Regions from separate parts of the Homo sapiens genome. Here region 1 is linked to region 2. The links are contacts of gene promoters, found by promoter capture Hi-C in blood cells and fetal thymus (Javierre and others, 2016). All regions are on one chromosome and are shown on one strand. The core of a region is centred on a gene start or on the middle of the fragment in contact, and the rest is flanking DNA. Distances in the headings are between cores, read along the strand shown. Region 1 overlaps LOC105378198 (a long non-coding RNA gene). Region 2 holds the start of SLC4A9 (solute carrier family 4 member 9).

The links. The method cuts DNA at HindIII sites, captures the fragments that hold promoters and counts their contacts. A CHiCAGO score of 5 or more calls a contact.
Region 1: a fragment that was not itself captured here is called in contact with the fragment with the promoter of SLC4A9 in region 2 in 2 of 17 cell types (naive CD8 T cells and naive CD4 T cells); the score reaches 6.2 in naive CD8 T cells.

What each region holds. Positions count from the first base shown.
Region 1 is chr5:140,725,909-140,731,608 of GRCh38, forward strand. All of the region lies in intron 1 of LOC105378198 (a long non-coding RNA gene), which reads left to right. It also overlaps VTRNA1-3. Among named protein-coding and RNA genes, the nearest start is that of ZMAT2, 28 kb to the left of the region's middle. RefSeq lists an enhancer at 36-330. The HindIII fragment of the contact is 9,674 bases long and covers 1-5,700 here.
Region 2 is chr5:140,358,107-140,364,363 of GRCh38, forward strand. It overlaps SLC4A9 (solute carrier family 4 member 9), which reads left to right and starts at 2,088. Exons shown (of 22, transcript NM_031467.3): 1 at 2,088-2,360; 2 at 2,706-2,866; 3 at 3,148-3,261; 4 at 3,702-3,757; 5 at 3,911-4,068; 6 at 4,339-4,426; 7 at 4,806-4,960; 8 at 5,333-5,449; 9 at 5,622-5,796; 10 at 5,948-6,081; 11 at 6,257. The coding sequence starts at 2,131. RefSeq lists enhancers at 4,949-5,098, 4,969-5,514. The HindIII fragment of the contact is 10,887 bases long and covers 1-5,889 here.

The DNA.
Region 1 (5,700 bases), core at 2,062-4,561, 370 kb after region 2:
CCAGGTGACTGCTGAGGAGAGAATAAACCGGGGGCACAACCGCGGAAGAGCTCTCCAGGGGTTAGAGGAAGGCTGAGTACTTGTCACTGCTGTATGTCCCCAGATGGACACTCTGCAATTGCCTGGAGATAGCGGCGGATTGGACAGTCCAGGTCGCTGAGTCAAGCTAAAGCACCGTTGTTTTGACTCACTCTTTGTGACGTAGGTCTTTCTCACCAGTCAAGAAAATACAATCCGAAAGCAACCTCTGGGCTGGCTTTAGCTCAGCGGTTACTTCGCGTGTCATCAAACCACCTCTCTGGGTTGTTCGAGACCCGCGGGCGCTCTCCAGCCCTCTTACTGCTGAAGTTCAGCTCACTTTCCATAATAAAAGGATCCAGGGTTTCTTGGAGAAATGGCTGATTTTAGTAGTGGGCAGGAAATATAGAAATGGACACGGAGCACCTCGTAGTGCTAGAAAGCAAGGAAGTGCTTAAAATCCAAACACAACCAAACTCTTAACTTTTAAAGTTTTTTCAGTGTTCAGTAATGTTCACGTGTTTGTTCTAACAGTTACCTGTATATTTGTATCTTCTTGTCCTTTTTGCCTGAGGCCCACAGGAGTTTTTCTTTCAAATCTAATGGATGCTCTAAGATATACCTCAGACTTGATCATTCCATATAATTTTTCCTAGGTTTCCTTTCGATATGTAGACCCAAGTTTCTTTTATTATAGTTTTGAAGATTACATCGGTTCCATTGTTTTATTCTTCTTCAGGGACTGCAATGTATGTTGGATCTTTGCCTCTACACCAACGCCACTTTCTGTCTGATCCTTTGAATGGCTTTTTTTTTTTTCAGATGGAATCTCACTCTGTTGCCCAGGATGGAGTGCAATGGTGCGATCTCCGCTCACTGCAACTTCCATCTCCTTTTTTCAAGCGATTCTCCTGCCTCAGCCTCCTGAGTAGCTGGGACTACAGGCACATGCCACCATACCTGGCTAATTTTTGTATTTTTAGTAAAGACAGGGTTTCACCATAATGGCCAAGCTGGTCTCGAACTCCTGACCTTGTGATCCACCCGCCTCGGCCTCCCGAAGTGCTGGGATTACAGGCGTGAGCCACTGCACCCGGCTGAATTGCTTTCTTTTGATTTTATTTTTATTTTATTGGCTGTGTTAATACCTTTCCTCAATACCAGTTATTATATTTTAAGTAAAAGCTCTTCCTCTTCGAACATCTTATAATTTAGTTTTTTTTTCTGATTTTTTTATTCTTCTATTTCTCCTGCTTTTTTTTTTTTAACAAACTGTTTTCTTAGTTATTTCGTTCTTTGTCCATTTCTGTTCTGAGTTATTTTTCTGATTCATGGCATTTTTTTTCATGTTACCAAATTATTGTTTAAGGTTATTTAATTTTGGCTGGAATATTATGTTTCAGGTTTCTGGTATCATGTTGAGTTTTTTTTTTTTAGAAAATATAGATTTTCACTTAAATTTTTTCTATATAATATGTCTGCAATTTTCTGTGCATTTTGTAATATTTTATTTTCCAGTTTCAGCAACTGCAAATGAGGCAGGAGGTTGGGTGCCTTACCAGCTTTCTTAGTTCAAGAGTGCCCTCTTTTTTTAGAGTGGCGCACTGGCTGATGTCTTCTGATTTTGTGATTCTGTTTCATTTCTGTGGGACTCTTAACTTTCTTTTTCTTTTTCTTTTCGAGACACAGCCTGTCTCTGTCTCCCAGGCTGGAGTGCAGCGGCTCCATCTCTGCTCACAGCAACCTCTGCCTCCTGGGCTCAAGCGATCCTCCTGCCTCAGCCTCCTCCCGAGTAGCTGGGACCACAGGTGCGCACTACCTCGCCTGGCTAAATTTAGTATTTTATTTTATTTTATTTTTGTAGAGATGGGGGTCTCACCATGTTGCCCAGGCTGGTCTCGAGTTCCTGAGCTCAAGAGATCTGCCCACCTCGGCCTCCCATAGTGTTGGGTTTATAGGAGTCAGCGACTGCGCCCAGCCTGGGACTCTTACTCATTGCTTGCTTCGTTTTTCTTCACCATCAAGCCCTGAAGGGGTACCTCCCCTTCAAGTCGCCTCTTTCTTCCTGCCTTTCCTCTTGCCTTTGCAACATTGCCATTGCCAGTCTCAAACAATTTCACCCCCTTTTAAAATCTGTCTCAGTTCTTTCATCTACCAGATCTCGGACGTATTGTCAGTATTTCTCCACTCAAGATGGGACTCTCTTTTTCTGGTGGTGGTTTAGCCTTTCTGTGCCATCTTGGCTTCTCTTCTAGAGCATGGCTCTGTAACTGGATCTGCTGGTTTTGGATGTATATACCTGCTTTTATATAAAATGGGGTTTATAATTTTCTCTGTCTGTAAATTATATTGTAGCCATGGATGGTTTTATTCGTTCTCCTTAGTTTTGTTTGTTTATAGGATGTGTGGAGAGATTCAAATTTAGGTAACTGGTGTTGTTCTATAGGAATCTGGAAGCCAGAACATTTGTTTTTGTTTTCCATAAAAAATTTTAATTGTGGTAAACTACACAGAATATAAAATTTGGCATATGAACCATTTTAAAATGTTCAGCTCAGTGGTGGTAGGTACATTCACACCGTTTTGCAACCATCACCACTATCCATCTCCAGAACTCTTCATCTTTCAAAACTGAAACTCTATACCCATTAACTAATAACTCTCCACCTCCCTCTATCCCTAATCCCTGGCAACTGCCATTCTGCTTTCCGTCTCTATAAATTTGACTACTCTAGGTATCTCATAGAAGTGGAATCATACAGTAGTTGTCTTTTTGTGACTCGTTTATTTCACTTAGCACTATGTTTTATTTTGTTTTGTTTTGTTTTGTTTTGAGATGGAGTCTGGCTCAGTCACCCAGGCTGGAGTGCAGTGGCACAATCTCGGCTTACTGCAACCTCCACCTCCTGGGTTCAAGCGATTCTCCTGCCTGAGCCTCCCAAGTAGCTGGGACTTCAGCCTCCTGCCACCATGTCCTGCTAATTTTTTGTAACTTTACTAGAGACTGGGTTTCACTCTGTTAGCCAGGATGGTGTCGATCTCCTGACCCCATGATTCTCCTGGGATTACAGGCATGAGCCACCGCACCCAGCCAGCACAATGTTCTTAAGGTTCATCCACGTTGTATCATGTACTACAATTTCATTCCTTTTGAAAAAGGATAAATAATATTTTATTGTATGTGAATACTACAATGGAATACTATTAAAATGGAATGTTTTGTTTAGTCATTGTCCATCAATGGACATTTGGGTTGTTTTGACCTCTTGCCTATTATGAACAATGCTGCTATGAACATGAGTGTACAAATATCTGTTTGTGTTTCTGCTTTCAATTCCTTTGGGTATATACCCAGAAGTGGAATTGCTGGGTTATATGGTAATTGTACTTTTAATTATTTAAGTGACTGCTGTACTGTTTTCCATAGCAGCTGTATCACTTTACATTCCCACCAATAGTGCAGAAATGCTTCAATTTCTCCATGTCTTCACTAACACTTATTCTCTCTCTCTCTGTGTGTGTGTGTGTGTGTGTGTGTGTGATTGATAGCAGCTATCCTGAAGGGTGTGAGGTTGTATCTCCTGTGGCAGCTCATTTGATTTTAATCTTTCTTAATCATTAGTGTATTTAAAACTGCAAGTTTACCTTTAAGTACTGCTTTAGTTGTAGTACACAAATTCTTCATGTAGTGTTTCATTCACTTCTAAGTATTTTTTAAGCAGAATCTTATTTAGTAATATGTTATTTAGTTTCCAAACACATGGGATTTTATTTTAGCTATTGTTTTTACAAATGTTAATTCCAGGATGCATTGTAATAGGAGAACATTGTCTGAATGGGATCAGATCTGTGGAATTTATAGCCTAACACATGGTCTATTGTTGTAAGTGTTATATATATATTCAAAAATAATGCCTGTTTATTTTGGGTCTACATATTTTTAAAATTGTTTTTCTTTTCAGCTCATTCATATCCATACTATTTTCAGGTCTATGTGATCTACAGTCCTTAGAGATGCATATTAAAACATTTCCAACTACAATTGGTGATTTATGTATTTTTTCCTATTTGATGTAGTTCAAGACTGTATTGTAGATGCATGTATGCTTATGATGACTGTATCAATTTTCTACTGTTCACTAATTAAACATTTTTAAACTGTGAGATATAACATACATGCAGAAAATTCATGAGGTAAATACATAGATTTAAATAAATGCTTATAAAATGAATCCATATAATCACTACTAAGGTAAGAAAACATTGCCAACATCCCAGAAACCCTCTCTCTCTTTTGATTTTTACAATCCCTTCACTTTCTTTTGGAATTAACCATTCACCTGATTGTTTATCTTATTTATTTTTATTGTATTTAGAGAAGATGGTCTTGCTATGTTGCCCAGGCTGCAGTATAGTAGCCATTCACAGGTATAATCATAGTGGCAACAGCCTTGAATTCCTGGGCTCAAGTGATCCTTTTGCTTCAACCTCTCCAGTGCTGAGACTGTAGGCATGCACCATTGTGCCCAGCCCTGTTTACCTGATTTTTATTTATTTATTAATATTTCTATTACTATTATTATTATTTTTGAGACAGAGTCTTGCTCTTTCACCCAGGCAAGAGTGCAGTGGGGGTATCTCAGCTCACTGCAAGCTCTGCCTCCTGGGCTCAAGTGATTCTCCTCTCTCAGCCTCCTGAGTAGCTAGGATTACAGGCATGTGCCACCATGCCCAGCTAATTTTTGTGTTTTTAGTAGAGACAGCGTTTCAATATTTTGGCCAGGCTTGTCTCGAACTCCTGACCTCAAGTGATCCGCCCACCTCGGCTTCCCAAAGTGCTGGAATTACAGGCGTGAGCCACTGTGCCCGCCCCCTCCATTTACCTGATTTTTATAATAATAATTTTCTCACTCTTCTTTATATCTTTACCACTTATGTATGAATGCCTGGGTGCTATAATTTAGTTTTCCTATTTTGATTACTTTCATAAATATAGTTATATTGAAGTGTTTGTTTTGTTTTGCTTCTTTTGTTCAATAATACATTTGTAAGATTTATCCATTTTGTTTATGTTGTGGGTTACTATTCCATTTAATGAATATAAGATGATTTACTTATTCATTTTAATATTGATGGATATTTGTAGCATTTCTAGTTTTGGTTCATTGTTCATAATAACTGAAACCCAGAAAAAACAGATATTCCCATCTTATACATATGTCCTGCGGCACTTCAGCATATATTTCTCCAGGGTACATACCTAGGAGTCAAACTGCTAAGTATTTAGTGGATTCATGTCTTCAGTTCTATAGTTTTGCCCAGTGGTTTTCCAAAGTATTTCTACCAGCTTACACATCTACCAGCAGTGTATCATGTCCCCAATATTTGGCATTGTACAACTTTAAAAATTTTTGTCAATTTTATGGCTGTAATTTGGTACCTCATTGTATTTTCATGAAAAAAGACAAAATCTTCATTTTAAGTATATAGAATAAATTCACATAATGTATTTTCTTTTTCTTTTTCTTTTTTTTTTTTTTTGGGACGGAGTCTTGCTCTGTCGCCCAGGCTGGAGTGCAGTGGCGCGATCTCGGCTCACTTCAAGCTCTGCCTCCCGGGTTCAAGCCATTCTCCTGCCTCAGCCTCCCCAGCAGCTGGGACTACAGGTGCACACCGCCACGC
Region 2 (6,257 bases), core at 838-3,337:
AGGGTAGGATGGGCCGGGCGCGGTGCTCACGCCTGTAATCCCTGCACTTTGGAAGGCCGAGGCGGGTGGATCACGAGTTCAGGAGATCGAGACCATACTGGCTAACACGGTGAAACTCCGTCTCTACCAATACAAAAAAAAAAAAAAAAAAAAGAAAGAAATTAGCCGGACGTGGTGGCGGGCGCCTGTAGTCCCAGCTACTCTGGAGGCTGAGGCAGGAGAATGGCGTGAACACGGGAGGCGGAGCTTGCAGTAAGCCGAGATCATGCCACTGCACTCCAGCCTGGGCAACAGAGCGAGACTCCGTCTCAAAAAAAAAAAAAAAAAAAAAAAAGAAAGAAACTTAGGATAGGATGGAAAAGGAAGATTTCCGTGAGTAGCTAACGTCTGAGATGAGACCTAGGTCACAGATTGTCATGTAAGGATATGGGGGAAAGGCTTTCCTTACAGAGAAAATAGATCCTGCAAAGATCCTCAGGCAGGAACAGGTTTTGCAGAACAGGTGAAGGCCAGTGTGGTTAGAAAGGAGTGAGCGAGGGGAGGCTGGTGTGAGATGCCGTCAGAGAGGTGGGTTGGGGCCAGGGTGTGAATCTTGCAGGCCACGACAAGGAGCTTGATTTTTTTTTCTTCTTCTTCTAGGAGTAATGGGAGTGTGTTGGGTGAGTATTGAACCGAAGAGTAATGTGGCTCAACTGCCTTTTGAAAGGACATGTATGGTGTGGAGGATGGACTTTGGGCAAGGGAGGAAGAGTGGAAGCAGGGGGGTTATTACAAGAGACCAGGAAGCTACTGAAATAATTCAGGTGAGAAATGATGGTTGTTTGAATCAGGGTAGCAGTGCTGGAGGTGGGGAGATGTGGTTGGATTATGGGTATATTTTGAAGATAGAGTCAACAGGATTTGCAAATAATGGACCACATTTTCCTTTGCTCATTTAGCTCCAGGAACTCCTTCACTTACACCCCCTAGTGGGCTCCTCCATCCTCACAGGGCAGATCCCAGGGACACAGCTAAATTAGGGAATTCCTAAGTGTTGTTGGACAAAAGAATTTAAGACTCGTTAGCTGGGCAGCCAGGCACAGTGGCTTACGCTTGTAATCCTAGCACTTTGGGAGGCTGAGGCGGATGGATCACCTGAGGTCAGGAGTTTTTGAGACCAGCCTGGCCAACATGGTGAAACCCTGTCTCTACTAAAAATATAAAAATCAGCCAGGCCTGGTGGCACATGTCTGTAATCTCAGCTACTTGGGAGGCTGAGGCAGGAGAATCACTTGAACCCAAGAGGTGAAGGTTGCAGTGAGCTGAGATCACACCACTGCACTCCAGCCTGGGCGACAGAGCGAGACTCCGTCTCAAAAATAAAATAAAATAAAATAAAAGACTTAGCTGGGCATGGTGGCGTGCACCTGTAGTCCCAACTACCTTGGAGGCTGAGGTGGGAGGATCACTTGAGCTAGGAGGTCAAAGGTGCAGTGAGCTATAACTGTGCCACTACACTCCAGACTGGGTGAGAGAGTGAGACCCTGTCTCAAAAAAAAAGAAAAGAAAAGAATTTAAGACTCAGACACTAGGTCTTCCACCATTATCCCATTTAATGGGCAGGTCCTCTGCCTGCTATCTCCCTTACCCTGTCTGGCTTCCATGGACTCAATTATTTATTAGGTCCCTGTTTGTCCAAATAGGTGTGTCTGTGGCCCCAGGGGTGTGTTGGTGACACCCAAAACAGTCCTGGGTGTTTGGTATTTATATTTGATACAAGTGAGGGGGGCAGCAAAATCTGGGGGTACCAAGTCCTCAGACCCAAGCCAATCATTTACTCCTGTTTCTTTACACAAAACACAGTGGGATCAGACCTGATACCACAGGAAATGCACATACACATTTTGGCCCCAGGTTGGGCATTTCTGGAGAGCCTGGGAAAGGCCAGACTAGTCTTACAAATACTCTTATGCCAGCAGGGGGTGGGGTAAGCAAGTAGGGGAGTAGGTGACCGGTAGAGTCTGGAGTCAGCAGGCCTTGTTCTGTTTGTGTTGTGCTGCAGTGGGGGATGCATTATAAATGCAACCAGCCAGAGGGCCCCTGGCTTCAGAACCTAGGACTGTACTGGTTCTGAGATTCTGTGCAAGCCTCATGGAAATGAAGCTGCCAGGCCAGGAAGGGTTTGAAGCCTCCAGTGCTCCTAGAAATATTCCTTCAGGGGAGCTGGACAGCAACCCTGACCCTGGCACCGGCCCCAGCCCTGATGGCCCCTCAGACACAGAGAGCAAGGAACTGGGAGTACCCAAAGACCCTCTGCTCTTCATTCAGCTGAATGAGCTGCTGGGCTGGCCCCAGGCGCTGGAGTGGAGAGAGACAGGCAGGTAAGTTGGATGCAGGCCAGTTCTGTGGGATCCTTCCCCTTCCCCAGCTGGAGCCTCCTATATGTCCCCCAGCGCTTCTTATGGGGCTGCCCAAAATTAGGATTTTCCCAGCTGTGTTCCCTTATTTCAGGGTCTTACCTTCCATGATGCCCAGCCTCCTCTGCAGTCTAGTTTTGAGATCCCCAAGACCCTAGATGAGGGGTGACTGCCAGGGTGGGGGGGAGACTTCACACCACTGGGCCCAGGATGCCCTCATTGCCTTGCCTTCCCTAGCTCCTCTGCATCTCTGCTCCTGGACATGGGAGAAATGCCCTCAATAACACTGTCTACCCACCTTCATCACAGGTGGGTACTGTTTGAGGAGAAGTTGGAGGTGGCTGCAGGCCGGTGGAGTGCCCCCCACGTGCCCACCCTGGCACTGCCCAGCCTCCAGAAGCTCCGCAGCCTGCTGGCCGAGGGCCTTGTACTGCTGGACTGCCCAGCTCAGAGCCTCCTGGAGCTCGTGGGTAGGCTGGGATCCTTTGCAGGAAGGGCCTGGGTAGCCATGCCTTTTCCCCAGGATTTCCCCTCCAAAGTCTTGAAATCTTCCAGAGCCCATCCCTACCCCTCCTAGGATTGTCTACCCTTGTCACAGGGTGGACATGGAAAAGCAGGGTGGAGGAGCAAGTTCATTGGCCCTGGCATTCTGAGACTCCCAGAAGGGAAAGGTGTCTGGGCAGAGGGAGAAGGGGAAGAGTGTGCGGCAGGGAACTCTCAGGAAGGAGATGACCCCCAATCCATTCTCCAGAGCAGGTGACCAGGGTGGAGTCGCTGAGCCCAGAGCTGAGAGGGCAGTTGCAGGCCTTGCTGCTGCAGAGACCCCAGCATTACAACCAGACCACAGGCACCAGGCCCTGCTGGGGTGAGAGCCCCTCCCTGGGCCCAGGACCAAGACCCTGGTGTGGCAGGGTCTCAGATCTCCCCTGCACCTTCCAGGGCTAGAAGTAGCCCAGGCTTAGTTCAGGCTCCAACCCAGGACTCATGAGCAAGAGGAAACTGGTGGTAATGTTGTGGGGAGAAGATTCAGGGGGCTAGAATCGTAAGAGAGTTCTGTGAAGACATGTACTTGGTAGGCACTAGGCCTACCATTTGATCTTCACAGTATCTCATTTGATCTTCACAACCACCCTGTAAATAGTACCACAATTATCCCCATTTTAGTGGTGAGAAAACTGTGGCTCAGAGTGGAGAAGGGTATACTCTAATTCTTACAGCTTGTCAGTGGCAAAAGTGATTAGGGAATCCTGGTGGATCCACCCCCAAAGCCTGTGGTCTTAATCACTGCATAATCCTGTTTTGTAGGCTCTACTCATCCAAGAAAGGCTTCTGACAATGAGGAAGCCCCCCTGAGGGAACAGGTTTGTGGCCCTTCCTTGGGGTCCCTTTCCAGTGGCTGGGAGAGGGGTTAGAAATTAACAAAAGTCTACTCTCCACTGGATTTCTCATCATTTGAGATCTTATCCTCCCCAAATAACCTTTCATATTCTGTGTCTCCTTGAACCCCCATCCAGTGTCAGAACCCCCTGAGACAGAAGCTACCTCCAGGAGCTGAGGCAGGGACTGTGCTGGCAGGGGAGCTGGGCTTCCTGGCACAGCCACTGGGAGCCTTTGTTCGACTGCGGAACCCTGTGGTACTGGGGTCCCTTACTGAGGTGTCCCTCCCAAGCAGGTGAGGCTACTGAGTGAGTGGGAGTCAGGGATCCCAGAACCTAGAAGGGTCTTTACTGAGGAGGGGAAGGAGGGTCTCAGTCTGATTCTCTGAGGCTGTGGGGAGGATGGTGCTCAGGGGTCTGGGGAGAGAGTAGTGGTCAGGGCTGCATGGTAGGTGTGCAAATGAGTGTGTTTATGGGAGCTGATAGGTCAGAGCTGAGCATCAGAGGCCAGGGCTGCCCTGTGGGAAAGCAGCCTGTGAATCTCTGGGGCCTGGTTCCTTCCTCAGGTTTTTCTGCCTTCTCCTGGGCCCCTGTATGCTGGGAAAGGGCTACCATGAGATGGGACGGGCAGCAGCTGTCCTCCTCAGTGACCCGGTGAGCTGAGCAGGTGTGTGTGTGTGCGCGCGCACGCGTGCATGCCTGTGTGTGTGTGCACACATGCATACATGCATGGGCTCATGTGAGTGTGTGTGTGTGGACTCTGTATGTGTCCCTAAATACAGCAATGAGGCACAGTGAGCACTGAGACTGAAGTTTCCTCGTCTCCTAGTGCAGCCCCATTACTGGATGAGTGCTGGCACACTGTAGGCACTCAATAGATACCCACTGAATGAATGAATTAATGCATGCATAAAGGAATGTGTGAATGACTTGTCTGCCTCTGTGACTTGTGTCTGTCTAGTTTTGAGACTATGAAAATGCATGTAAGAGACCAGGTTTGCACTTACCACCCATTCTGTGCCCCCATTCCCAGCAATTCCAGTGGTCAGTTCGTCGGGCCAGCAACCTTCATGACCTTCTGGCAGCCCTGGATGCATTCCTAGAGGAGGTGACAGTGCTTCCCCCAGGTCGGTGGGACCCAACAGCCCGGATTCCCCCGCCCAAATGTCTGCCATCTCAGCACAAAAGGTACCTGGGAGCCATCATCCCATACAGATTCCTGCCCATATAGGCCCTGGGTCTAATTCCATTGTTGAGGAGGGGTGGTGTCCCAGGAAAGAGATAGGGACCTATCTTTGGATTTGGAGTCAGGCAGACCTAACTCTGAGTTCTGCTGGACTACTCTCTCGCTAAGAGACCTGAACAAAGACCTTCCCTGCCCGAGCCTGGCTTTCACAGGTCGCAATATGACCTGGACCTTCTAGAGGCCCAGGTGTCGCCATGGTTCCCTCGCCGGCAGAGACAAGAGCAGCCGCTAGGGGGCAGGGCGCCACGAGCTCTGGACCGAGTCGCAGACTGGTTGGAGATCCTCAGCCAACCTGGGGTTCCCCTCCTCCTCAGGCTTCCCTCGCAACAGCGGGAGATCAGAGGTCCCGCCGTCCCGCGCCTGACCTCGGCTGAGGACAGGCACCGCCATGGGCCACACGCACACAGCCCGGAGTTGCAGCGGACCGGCAGGTGAGGCGAGCTGGGAGGAAACAAGGGTAGGTGACCTGGGGGAGGGGAGGAGTCACAGGGAAACTGAGGTGTGTGCTCACTGTGGGAGGGGCTCACCCGGTCACAGGGAAAGTAGCGGGGATGCGGGTGTGGAGTGTGAAAACCTGGATCACTGACGACCCTCGGGCGGGAGGCTGTTTGGGGGCCTTATCCAGGACGTGCGCAGGAAGGTCCCGTGGTACCCCAGCGATTTCTTGGACGCCCTGCATCTCCAGTGCTTCTCGGCCGTACTCTACATTTACCTGGCCACTGTCACTAATGCCATCACTTTTGGGGGTCTGCTGGGAGATGCCACTGATGGTGCCCAGGTGGGTAGGGCCCAGGGGGCAGGCACAAGCGTTGGTGTCCCCTAGTCCATCCCTTCCCCTGGGACTATGGGTAAGTTAAGGAGGCTCTCCCAAAGCTTCAAAGGACCCCGAGGACTTCAGGGTCCTGTGCTGAGCCCCTGTTGGCTTCCAGGGAGTGCTGGAAAGTTTCCTGGGCACAGCAGTGGCTGGAGCTGCCTTCTGCCTGATGGCAGGCCAGCCCCTCACCATTCTGAGCAGCACGGGGCCAGTGCTGGTCTTTGAGCGCCTGCTCTTCTCTTTCAGCAGGTAGGAGAGCTCCCCCCATCACCGGACCCTCACTAGTGCCATGGTCAGCCTGCTCCTGGCTGGGTGAATAGGAGAGAGTGGGAGCTATCTGTTTGGGTTGAGGGACACCTGACCTGGGTTTAGTGGGAAGCAGACAGCCCTGCTAAGCCAGCCTTCCTGTCTCTCATCCCCACAGA